Linked DNA regions of Homo sapiens: region 2 is linked to region 1. The links are contacts of gene promoters, found by promoter capture Hi-C in human tissues and cell types (Jung and others, 2019). All regions are on one chromosome and are shown on one strand. Each heading gives the region's core, a stretch centred on a gene start or on the middle of the fragment in contact. The rest is flanking DNA. Distances are from core to core; before and after follow the strand shown. Region 1 holds the start of NKAIN1 (sodium/potassium transporting ATPase interacting 1). Region 2 overlaps LOC124903917 (a long non-coding RNA gene).

Region 1 (5,770 bases), core at 1,025-3,524:
TCTCAGCCTCTCGAGTAGCTGGGATTACAGATGCGTGCCACCACCCCTAATTTTTGTATTTTCAGCAGTGATGGGGTTTCTTCATGTTGGCCAGGCTGGTCTCGAACCCCTGACCTCAGGTGATCTGCCCATCTCGCCCTCCCAAAGTGCTGGGGTTACAGGCATAAGCCACGATGCCTGGCCTAGAAAACTTACTTTTTATTTATCTGTCCTGTTTGATTATGTATGTATTTATTTTTTACAATATATGTATATTACTTTTCTAATTAAAAAAAACCCCTAGTTTAAAATTAAAAAATTAACAAACACAGAAGAATCCTCTGAAAGGTTTAAACATTTCTTGGCATTTCATGTTCCTCAAAGTAGATAAAGAAAAACAGACAATCTCTGCCCTTCTGGAGTTCCCATTCCACCTGATCTTAATTAATTCCCTCTGCAATCCTCAGGGATAATCATTTTACAGATAAGAAGACTGAGGCCGGCCAGTGGGGGGAAGTCACTTGTCCAGTCTCCCACAGCTGGGAGCAGGGCTACAATCTCCAGAGCTAGGGCTGTTTCCACCACTGCCCAGGCCAGGTCTGTGGATGGCATGTTTGAAGCTGGTGTCCCCAGGAGGAGAGAAGCAAGACGAATGAGGAGGTCTGCATGTCCAGGCTCAAAACTTCACTCTACATTATCATTGGCTCCTGTGGTGGGGAGGGCGTGATGGATGCAGGCAAGAGTGGAAACCCAGAACAAGGAGTCCAGCATGAGGGGGGCTCAGGCTCCTCGCTGCCCACTCTCAGACCTGGGTTCGGCGATGGAGGTCCCCATGCACCTCTGCCTAGAGGAGAAGCACAGCTTCAACCTCCCTAGTTGTTCAATCTCAGCTCTAGGGTAGGTAGGAGACCCCTGCCTCTCCTTAACCACCCTCCCAAATTCCCCTGCCAGGGCCTGATTTGAAGGGCAGTGCTGTTTCTTCTAGTCCACTACAGTCACTCCTCCCTGAGACAAGAACCTGAGTTCCCTATGCTGGGGCTAGGCACAGTGTCCTCAGATGCTCTGGTCCTCCCTAGGGCACCCAAGTGTCCCCATCCCCACTGTTGCTGGCCCCGGCAGAGGAGCTGCTCTGGTGGGTGGAACTGATGACTGATGGAACCCCCATGGCCACAGCGGCCAGACCAAAGCAGGAAGTGTGGTCCAGGCTGGGTCAGGCTGGCCCAGGATCTGGCAGCTCCTGGTGACCCTCTCCAGGGAGGTGGCTCTCCTTTCCCAGGACTGCCCGGTCAGGAAGGTGAAGGGAGGCAGAAACAACACAAAGGATTGGAGGGTTCTTGGAGTCTAAGATCCCAGAACACAGATGAACATGGGCCAGAAATGGTCAGCGATTTAGAGACACACCAAAGAGAAACCCTGAGAGACACACGCCGGAGCAGAGACTTTGTGAGAAACGCTCACACAGGGGTGGTGATCAGAGGCAGAGACCCAGAGGAAGGGAGAGACCCATGCAAACGAGGGATCTAGAGGGAAACACACAGCAGGACCTCAACGGATCCACAGATCAGCCTCAGACACACCCCCAGTCCCAGCAAGCCACCGTCCCACAGCGCATCCCCCAACAGGAGGCCACTTGTACAGTGCGGGCGGGCCGGGGACTCGCGCACAGGACGCACTTGGGGACCGGAGGAGCGCCGGGCACAGCAGCGAGAAGCGCACACAAAGAGACAGCCCGGCCAGCGGGAGCAGGCTCCGCCCGACCGCTCCGAGACTCCAGACCACCCCCCGCCCGGGCACACGCACCAGACACACACACAGAGACACACGCAACCCCACCCGCACGCCCTGGGACCGCGCCCCGCCGCGCCCCACCCTGCCCCGACTGCCTGGGCACGCGACGCTTACCAGCTGCAGGCAGCAGAAGGCGACCAGCGTGCAGCGCCCGCTGCACTTGCCCATGGCTCCGGGGGCTGCGCGGGCCGCACGCCGCGGCGCCCTTCTTGCTCCGCGGCCGCCGCCTGCTCGCGCCGCGCGGGCTCCACGTCCTCCCCGCTGGGCGCGCCGGGCGGCGGGGCCGGGCGCCTAGGGCCGGGCCCGGGAGTGTCCGGTCCCCAAGGCTGGGGCCGGCCGCCCGCGCTCCGAGTCCATGGTCCGTCCGTCCGCGCGCTGGCCCCGCCGAGCCGCGCCTCCTTTGTCTAGCGGGCCGTCCGTCAGGCGCGCCTCCTGCCCCGGGGCGGCTGGCGGGGAGCGCGGAGCAAGGAGAGCGAGCCCCGAGCGCGGCGCAGCGCAGAGCAGCACTGCCCAGCTGGGGCAGTCGCCCGGGCTCTCGTCGGCCGCGGCTTCCCGGCCCCACCACGTGGCTCCGCCGCCGCCACCGACAGGGAGGGAGTTGGGGGGAACGGCAGAGGGGTGGGGCGGGGGAGCCGCCGGAGGGGAGGGGAGAGGGATAGGGAGGTGGAGGGTTGGAGAGGCAGGGAGTGAAGTGGAAGAGTGCGTGCGGGCTTAGGGGACAACAGCCCTGAGTCAAATCCAGACTTTGCTGCTCACTCGCTGTGTGACCTTGGGCAAATCACGTCACCTCTCTGGACCTGTTTTCTCATGAACAAAGTAGGAATAATTATGCCTCTTTAGTGTAGATATGAAGATGAAATGCAGTCATGTGAATAAAGCGCTTAGCCCTGTGCCTGGCCTCCTGGCTTGGAACACTTTTTTGTCCACCCTGTCTCTAGGGCTCCAGGGTTCCAACTTGGACTTCTAGTTCTATTTACGTTCCCAGATCTGCTCCTCACCCCAGCCTCTCCCCTGAGTGTCTGGCCACATTTTTCGCCTTCCTTCTTTCCGTCTACTGGCATTTATTGAGCCCTGACTGCATACACACCCCTGGGGGCCCTGCGAGCCAGAGATGAGACCTGCAACACTGTTCCAAATCCCGTAGAGCTGCACCGCCCAGGGAACAGATAGGCTCCCAAGAGCACGCCAGTGAGATGGGTGATGGCAGAGATCTGCCCAGGTGGAGGTAGGGAGCCCCTACCCTGGGCTGCAGTAGGGACAGAGTCAGAAGTTTCCCAGCAGAAGATTGCCTTCTCCAAGCCACCCCCAAAAGCCCTCGAACTGGACACATCTCAAATCCACATAATCATTCCTGTCCCACTCCTAACTTCCTATATTCACCTTGGCAATTAGCATCACCCAAGTGGAATTTCCTAGGTCATCCTCCAGGCTTCCCTACAATTACATCTGATCTGTCACTACATTCTATAAACTGTACTTTCCAACTAACATTTATGAAATACCCACTATGTGCCAGGTTCTCTGCTGGGGATAAGGGAACAAAACCCGACAAAATCTCTGCCCTCATTGAGCACACAGTCTAGTGAGGGATTGTCATTAAAACAAGGAAATATACAAATAAATACGCAAAGTTCTGATGAATACTCTAAAGAATATTAAAGAAGAAACGTGGCACGGTGGCTCACACCTGTAATTTCAGCACTTTGGGAGGCTGAATCAGCTCACTGCAACCTCCACCTGAGTGGAGATCGGCCTCCCAAAAGTGAGTGGATCACCTGAGTTCAGGAGTTCGAGACCAGCCTGGCCAACGTGGTGAAACCCCATCTCTACTAAAAATACAAAAATTAGGCAGGGATGGTATCAGGCACCTGTAATCCCAGCTACTCAGGAGGTTGAGGCAGGAGAATCGCTTGAACCCGGGAGGTGGAGGTTGCAGTGAGCCAAGACCATGCTATTGCACTTTAGCCTAGGCGACAAAAGCGAAACTCTGTCAAAATAAATAAATAATAAATAAAATACTAAGGGAGAAAAGAGAGAATGAGAGGGGCATAATTTAGGTTTGGGGACCAGGAAACACCTCTTTGAGGAAACGAAACTGATACTGAGACGACAATAGGAAGGAAGGAGAGGCAGGGGAGTGAAGAGTGTTCTGGTGGAAGAAACAGAAGGTTCTTATTCTTTCCCTTCCTCTCCACTCTCACTAGCCCTCTTGATTCGAGAGACAGGAAGTATGGTAAGATGTAGGTTAGGACCCGTGGTTTTGGACCCAAACGGCCTGGGTCCCGGTTCCAGCACTGTCACTTGTTTGCTGCTCACATAGTAAGCATGCAAATAAATGTGTCACTGTTTTCTTCCAGGACTGGCTACATAGTTTGGGGGGCCCAGCACAAAATGAAGATGCAGCACTTCTTGTTAAAAAATTAAGAATTTCGGCCAGACGCAGTGGCTCATGCCTATAATCCCAGCACTTGGGAGGCCTGGCCAGATGACAAGGTCAGGCGTTCGAGACCAGCCTGACCAACATGGAAAAACCCTGTCTCTACTAAAAATACAAAAAATAATTAGATAGGTGTGGTGGCACATGCCTGTAATTCGCAGCTACTCAGGAGGCTGAAGTGGGAGAATTGCTTGAACCCAGGAGGCAGAGGTTGTGGTGAGCTGAGATCACCCCACTGCACTCCAGCCTGGGGCAACAAGAGCAAAACTCCATCTAAAAAAAAAAAAAAAATTAAGAATTTCAAGATGGCAACACAGCAGAGCGTGAAGTCAAGAACATGCAGGGGGCCGGGCGCTGTGGCTTACGCTATAATCCCAGGACTCTGGGAGGCCAAGGCAGGCGGATCACTTAAGGTCAGGAGTTCAAGATCAACCTAGCCAACATGGCAAAACCCCATCTCTACTAAAAATACAATAATTAGGCCAGGCGTGGTGGCTTATACCTGTAATCCCAGCACTTTGGGAGGCCAAGGCGGGCAGATAATCAGGAGATCGAGACCATCCTGTCCAACATGGTGAAACCCCATCTCTACTAAAATACAAAAAATTATCCAGGCGTGGTGGTGCATGCCTGTAATCCCAGCTACTAGGGAGGTTGGGGCAGGGGAATCGCTTGAACCCAGGAGACGGAGATTGCAGTGATCCAAGGTCACGCCACTGTACTCCAGCCTAGTGACAGAGTGAGACTCCATCTCAAAAAATAAAAATTAAAAAAATACAAAAATTAGCTGGGCGTGGTGGCATGTGCCTGCAATCCCAGCTACTTGGGAGGTTGAGGCATGAGAATTGCTTGAACCCAGGAGATGGAGGTTGCAGTGAGCTGAGATTGTGCCACTGCACTCCAGCCTGGGTGACAGAGTGAAACGGTGTCTCAAAAAAACAAAGAACAGAAAACAAAACATGCAGGGTCCTGTGTGACTGCAGAGGTCACATGCCCATGAAGCCAATTGTGTCTTCTCCCTGGACTTTAAGGTGGGTCTCTTTGGCCGGGCGTGGTGGCTCACACCTGTAATCCCTGCACTTTGGGAGGCTGAGTCGGGTGTATCACCTGAGATCGGAGTTTGAGACCAGGCTGGCCAACATGATGAAACCCTGTCTCTACTAAAAATACAAAAAATTAGCTTGATGTGGTGGCAGGCGCCTGTAGTCCCAGCTACTCAGGAGGCTGAGGCAGGAGAAATCACTTGAACACGGGAGGCGGAGGTTGCACTGAGCCAAGATCGTGCCACTGCATTCCAGCCTGGGTGACAAGAGCAAAACTCCGCCTCAAAAAAAAAAAAAAAAGATGGGTCTCTTCACAGGTCTCCCTCTTCCACCCATTCTGCAGGATACCACTTTGTATTTTAAAAGACACAGAATATCCCCACCGTTGAATATCCTATGTGTGCTGAAGTTTTCACTTGGGTCAATAAGCTAATAGTGGGAACTTTTCTTTTCTTTTTCTTTTTTTGAGACAGGGTCTCGCTCTGTCGCCCAGGCTGGAGTGCAATGGAGAGATCACAATTCA
Region 2 (5,770 bases), core at 2,126-4,625, 320 kb after region 1:
CCTGGATTTACTAAGCTTCTTAAATTTAAGGGTTGATATATTTCAACAGTTTTGGGAAATTATCAGCCATATTACTTCAAATATTGCTTCTTCCTCAGTTTTTTCTTGCCTTCTGGAAGTACAGTTACACAAATGTTAGATCTACTAACTATGTCCCACAAATCTTACGCTCTGTTCCTTCTTCTATTTTTTTTTCTGTGTTTCTGGCTTGGATATTTTTTGTTGACCTGTCTTCGTTTGCTAACCCTGTCCTTTGTCCTTCTGCTAAACACATTCAATAAATTCTTAATTTCAGATGTTGTATTTTTCAGTCCTAGAACATTTTATTTTTGAAAGATATCCCACTTCCTCTGCTGACAATCTCTATTTTTATCTACTTTGCCAATCTTTTCATCTATTTTATTTAACATATTAATTGGTTATCTTACATTTTTTTGTCTGCTAACTCCAGTATGTGGGGCACTGTGGTTCCGATACTACTATCTATTTTTTCTCTTAACAGTCACATTTTTCTGTAGGTCTAGAAATTTCCAACACATGATATGGTTAAAACTGTAAATTATCCCAATATGGTGAGTGTGTAGTGATATCTTTTTGTGGTCTTAATTTGTACTCTGATTACTAGTGATGTTAAGCATCTTTTCATATGTTTATTCATAATTTGGTTTTCCTTTTTGTTAAATGCCTGTTCAAGTATTTTGTTCAACATTTGATTTGGTTATCTTTTTTCTCATTGATTTTCAGTTGTATATAAGTCGATATATCTTCCTGATGACTTGATCCATTTATTATTATTACTATTATTACAGTTTCTGGAAACAGGGTCTCACTCTGTTGTCCTGGCTGGAGTGTAGTAATGCGATCCATGGCTCACTGCAGCCTCCACTTCCTGGGCTCCAGTGATCCTCCTACTTCAGCCTCCCGAGTAGCTGGGGCTACAGGCATGCACCACCATGCCCAGTTAATTTTTGTATTTTTTGTAGAGATGCGATTTAGCCATGTTGCCCAGGCTGGTCTCGAACTCTTGGGCTCAAGGGATCTGCTCACCTTTGCCTCCCAAAGTGCTAGGATTCCAGGCATGAGCCACTGTGCTCAGCCCCATTTATTATTATACAGTGATCTTCTCTATTCCTAATAGTACTTCTCGCCTTAAAGTCCATTTTGTCTGATATTAATTTTTGTTGTTGTTGTTGTTGTTGTTTTTAGTAGATCTCACCCAAAAAAAAACTTCTGCTTTCTTCGACTAATTTGGAAATTACACTGTCTGTTTTACTCATTATCCAGTAACCTAGAAGTTATAATCTGAACATTTAACTTGTTCAAGTCTAGAGTTAATTGATACATTTACTCCAAGACAATGTAAAGAACTTACAACAGTTTAATTCCATTTTAACCACTATTATTAACGTTTTATACAATCGAGTTTCATTTAGATTTGCCATGTATTTGCCATTTGAATTCTCTTCATTCTTTCTAGCATTTTTGACCTTCAATTTGAGCTTTTTTTTCTTTCTACTCCAAGTCCATTGGTGACATACACTTACAGCTTTTGTTTGTCTGAAAATGTCTTTATTTCATATTCATTCTTAAAGGATGTTTTCACTGGGTATAGAATTCTTGGCCTGCAATTATTTTCTTTTTGCACATTGAAGATGATCTTTCTGCTATCCTCTGTCTTTTAATGTTGCTCTTGAGAAGTTAGCTCTCAGCTTACCTTGCTCTGTTGAAGATAATCTGACATTTTTTCCTGGCAGTTTTTAAGATATTCTCTTTGTCTTTGGTATTCTGCTATTTCACCACATATGTCTAGGTGCAAATTCTTTTTGAATTAATAGACTTCATTTTTTTTTAGAGCAGTTTTAGGTTCACAGCAAAATCAAGTAGAGAGTAGAGTTGGCCAGATGCAGTGGTCCATGCCTGTAATCCCAGCCAAGGCAGGAGGATCGCTTAATCCCAGAATTCGAGACCAGCCTAGGCAACATGGCAAACCCCATCTCTACAAAAAAATACAAAAATTAGTAGCCAGACCTGGTGGTGCACGTCTGTAGTCCCAGCTACTAGGAAGGCTATTAGAAGGATCATTTGAGCCTAGGAGGTCGAGGCTGCAGTGAGCTGTGATTGCACCATTGCACTCCATCCTGGGCGATGGAGTGAGACCCTGTCTCAAAATTAAAAAAAAGAAAAAAGAAAAAGAAAAAAAACCAAAGTACAGAGAGTTTCCACATGCCCCTCCCTCGTTTTCCACACACAGCCCCCCTTAACATCAACATCCTCCATGGGTGTTGTACATTTGTTACAATCAATAAACCAACATTATCGTTATCGACCAAAGTCCATAGTTTACATTAGGGTTCACTCTTTGTATTGTAAATTCTATGGGTTTTGACAAACTTATAATGAAATGTATATACTATTACAGCATCATACAAAATAGTTTCACTGTTCTAAAAATTTCCTGTTCTAATCTATTCATCCTCTCTCACCCCAAACCCCTGGCAGCCACTGATCTTTTTACTGTCTCCATGGCCTTGTCTTTTCCAGAATGTTACATAGTTGGAATCATACACTATGTAAGCTTTTCTAGGTGTAAATTAATTTTTTTTTTTTAGAGGAATCTCGCTCTGTCGCCAGGCTGGGGTGCAATGGTGCGATCTCAGCTCACTGCAACCTCCGCCTCCCGGGTTCAAGCGATTCTCCTGCCTCAGCCTCCCAAGTAGCTGGGTCTACAGGCATGCACCACCAAGCCTGGCTAATTTTTGTATTTTTACTAGAGACGGGTTTCACCATGTTGGCCAGGCTGGTTTTGATCTCCTGACCTCGTGATCTGCCCGCCTTGGCCTCCCAAAGTGCTGGGATTACAGGCGTGAGCCACCACACTCAGCAAATTAAAAAAAAATTTTATCTGGCCAGGCAAAGTGGCTCATGCCTGTAATCCCAGCACTTTGGAAGGCCAAGGCAGGTGGATAACCTGAGGTCAGGAGTTCAAGACCAGCCTGGCCAACATGGTGAAACCCCTTCTCTACAAAAATACAAAAATTAGCCGGGCATGATGGCGGATACCTGTAATCCCAGCTACTTGGGAGGCTGAGGCGGGAGAATCGCTTGAACCCAGGAGGTGGAGGTTGTAGTGAGTCGAGATCACGCCACTACACTCCAGCCTGGGCAACAGAGCGAGACTCCGTCTCAAAAAAAAATTTTTTTTTATCCCACTTGGGATTTGTTGGGCTTTTTGAATCTGTAGATTAATGGCTTTGATCAGTTCTGGGAGATTTTCAGCCACTGACGTTTCCAATATCACGTTTTCATTAGTCTCTCTCTTCTCTCCTGAAGTTCCAGTTACAAGAGTGTTAGATCCATTTCTCATTTATTCTTCGTGTCTTTTACTATTTCTTGCTATTATTTTTAATCTTTATGTCTCTCCATGCTCATTTTGGATTATTTCTTCTGACCTTTCTTCCAATTCACCAATTATCTTTTTTGCTATGTCCAAAATGCTTTAAATTTGCTATTGATTTTTAAATTTTAGTTAATTGTATTATTCATTTCTAGAAGTTCAGTTTGTCCCTTCAAACCTACTGTCACTTTTCATCCTGTTCCAGGCAAATATTTTCAAGCTACTCTATTGTTTATTTAAATATGGTTGTTCTATATTCTATGTAAAATAATTCCAGTGTTTAAATTCTTTATAGATATGTTTCTATTGTCTCTCATTTCTTCTGGTTCTTGCTGTGTGGTCTCATTTCCTTATGTGCCTGATTATCTTTTTTTTTTTTTTTTTTTTTTTGAGATGGAGTCTCACTCTGTCACCAAGCTGTAGTGCAGTGGCGCGATCTCAGCTCACTGCAACCTCCGCCTCCTGGGTTCAAGCAATTCTTCTGCCTCAGCCTCCTGAGTAGCTGGAACTACAGGTGCCCGCCACCATGCCCGCCTAATTTTTAGTAGAGACAGAGTTTCATCATATTGGCCAGGCTGGTCTCAAACTCCTGACCTCAGGTGATCCACCCACCTCGGCCTCCCAAAGTGCTGGGATTACAGGTGTGAGCCACCGCGCCCGGCCCTGATTATCTTTTACTGTGTGCTGGCCGTCGTACTTAAATATTTCTTTGTGTGACTCATTTGGAGCCTTGACTGAAGGACCTCCCTCCAGAGAAGGTTTTCATTTGCTTCTTCCAGAAACCTTTGGAAGAAACAAATAGTCTAGGGTCACCTCAATCTAAGTTCAAGGCTTGAGGTTACCGACCACCCAGGAGATACAAATTAGAGCTGCAAGTCTGTTACTGGAAAGGAGTCCCAATCCAGACCCCAAGAGAGGGTTTTTAGATCTTGTGCAAGAAAGAATTTGGGGCGAGTCCATAGAGTAAAGTGAAAGCAAGTTTATCAGGAAAGTAAAGGAATGAAAGAATGGCTACTCCACAGGTAGACCAGCAGCACCATGGGCCTCTGGTTGTCCATTTTTATGGTTATTTCTTGATTATACACTAAACAAGGGGTAGATTATTTATGAATTTCCAGGGAAAGGTGTGAGCAATCCCCGGAGCTGAGGGTTCCTCCCCTTTTCAGACCCTATAGGGTAACTTCCAGATGTTGCCATGGCATTTGTCAGCTGTCATGGTGCTGGTGGGAGTGTCTTCTAGCCTCCTCCTCACCTTACAGCCAGTAAGAAATAGAACCAGGCTAATGTATTATAATTATCATATAGTGAGCAGTGAGGATGACCAGAGGTCATTCTCATTGCCATGTTGGTTTTGGTGGGTTTTGGCCGGCTTTTTTACTGCAACCTGTTTTACCAGGAAGGGCTTTATGACCAGTGTGTTGTGCTGACCTCCTGTCTCATCCTGTGACCAAGAATGCCTAACCTCCTAGGAATGCAGCCCAGTAGGTCTCAGCCTTATCTTACCCAGCCCCTATTCAAGATGCAGCTGCTCTTCCTCTGATTCAAACGCCTCTGACAAGTCCATACTGGGGCTGGTTTACTTCTGAGAGTATGGCTCTTTGGGATCCCAACTAATTTGGGGGAAGGTCTTCTATTTGATCTTCCACCATGTGCTCTGGACTTTTATTTGTGTACATTGCCTAGAGGAGTTATCAAAACAACAGTTCAAACTAGCCCAAATCAGGAAGTGCCCTCAGAGTAAATGTGAGTTTCCCGTATGGTTTATCTGTCTACGTTTCTGTTTTCCCTTTAGCTTTGTTCTAGTGATGCCTTACCCTATGGCTGCACCAATATGTCAGTGTTTTTAGTTGTTTTCTTTTTTTCTTTTTTTTGAGACAAGTCTTGCTCTGGTGCCCAGGCTGGAGTGCAGTGGCCTGATCTCTGCTCACTGCAACCTCCGCCTCCCAGATTCAAGCGATTCTTGTGCCTTGGCCTCCCGAGTAGCTGGGATTACAGGCATGCACCACCATGCCCAGCTAATTTTTGTATTTTTAGTAGAGACGGGGTTTCCTCATGTTGGACGGGCTGGTCTTGAACTCCTGACCTCAGGTGATCTGCCCACCTTGGTCTCCCAAAGTGCTGGGATTACAGGCGTGAGCCACCGTGCCCGGCCTTTAGCTGTTTTCAATAGGAGAATTGATCTGAGGAACTTGGCGTGGCATTCCCAGAAAAGAGAAGCCGGCCAGATGGCAGACTCCATTTGAAAGAGATGGAAACTGTGGCTTAGAGAGGTGAGGCCACTTGCCTAGGGCCTTACAGCCAGTAAGAAATAGAGCCAGGCTGCAAGCTGAGGGCCGTTTTACACCAAATTCAGTGTTCTTGTCCCCACTCCCTGGC

Evidence for each region. The method cuts DNA at HindIII sites, captures the fragments that hold promoters and counts their contacts. A contact is called where the count stands out against the background at its distance.
Region 2: a fragment that was not itself captured here is called in contact with the fragment with the promoter of NKAIN1 in region 1 in 2 of the 25 tissues and cell types used here (neural progenitor cells and spleen).

Annotation. Positions count from the first base shown.
Region 1 is chr1:31,237,613-31,243,382 of GRCh38, forward strand. NKAIN1 (sodium/potassium transporting ATPase interacting 1) reads right to left here and starts at 2,275. Exons shown (of 7, transcript NM_024522.3): 1 at 1,882-2,275. The coding sequence starts at 1,935. The HindIII fragment of the contact is 31,179 bases long and covers 1-5,770 here.
Region 2 is chr1:31,558,295-31,564,064 of GRCh38, forward strand. The region is part of intron 2 of LOC124903917 (a long non-coding RNA gene); the gene reads left to right. Among named protein-coding and RNA genes, the nearest start is that of TINAGL1, 15 kb to the right of the region's middle. RefSeq lists a silencer at 4,714-5,008. The HindIII fragment of the contact is 4,161 bases long and covers 1,296-5,456 here.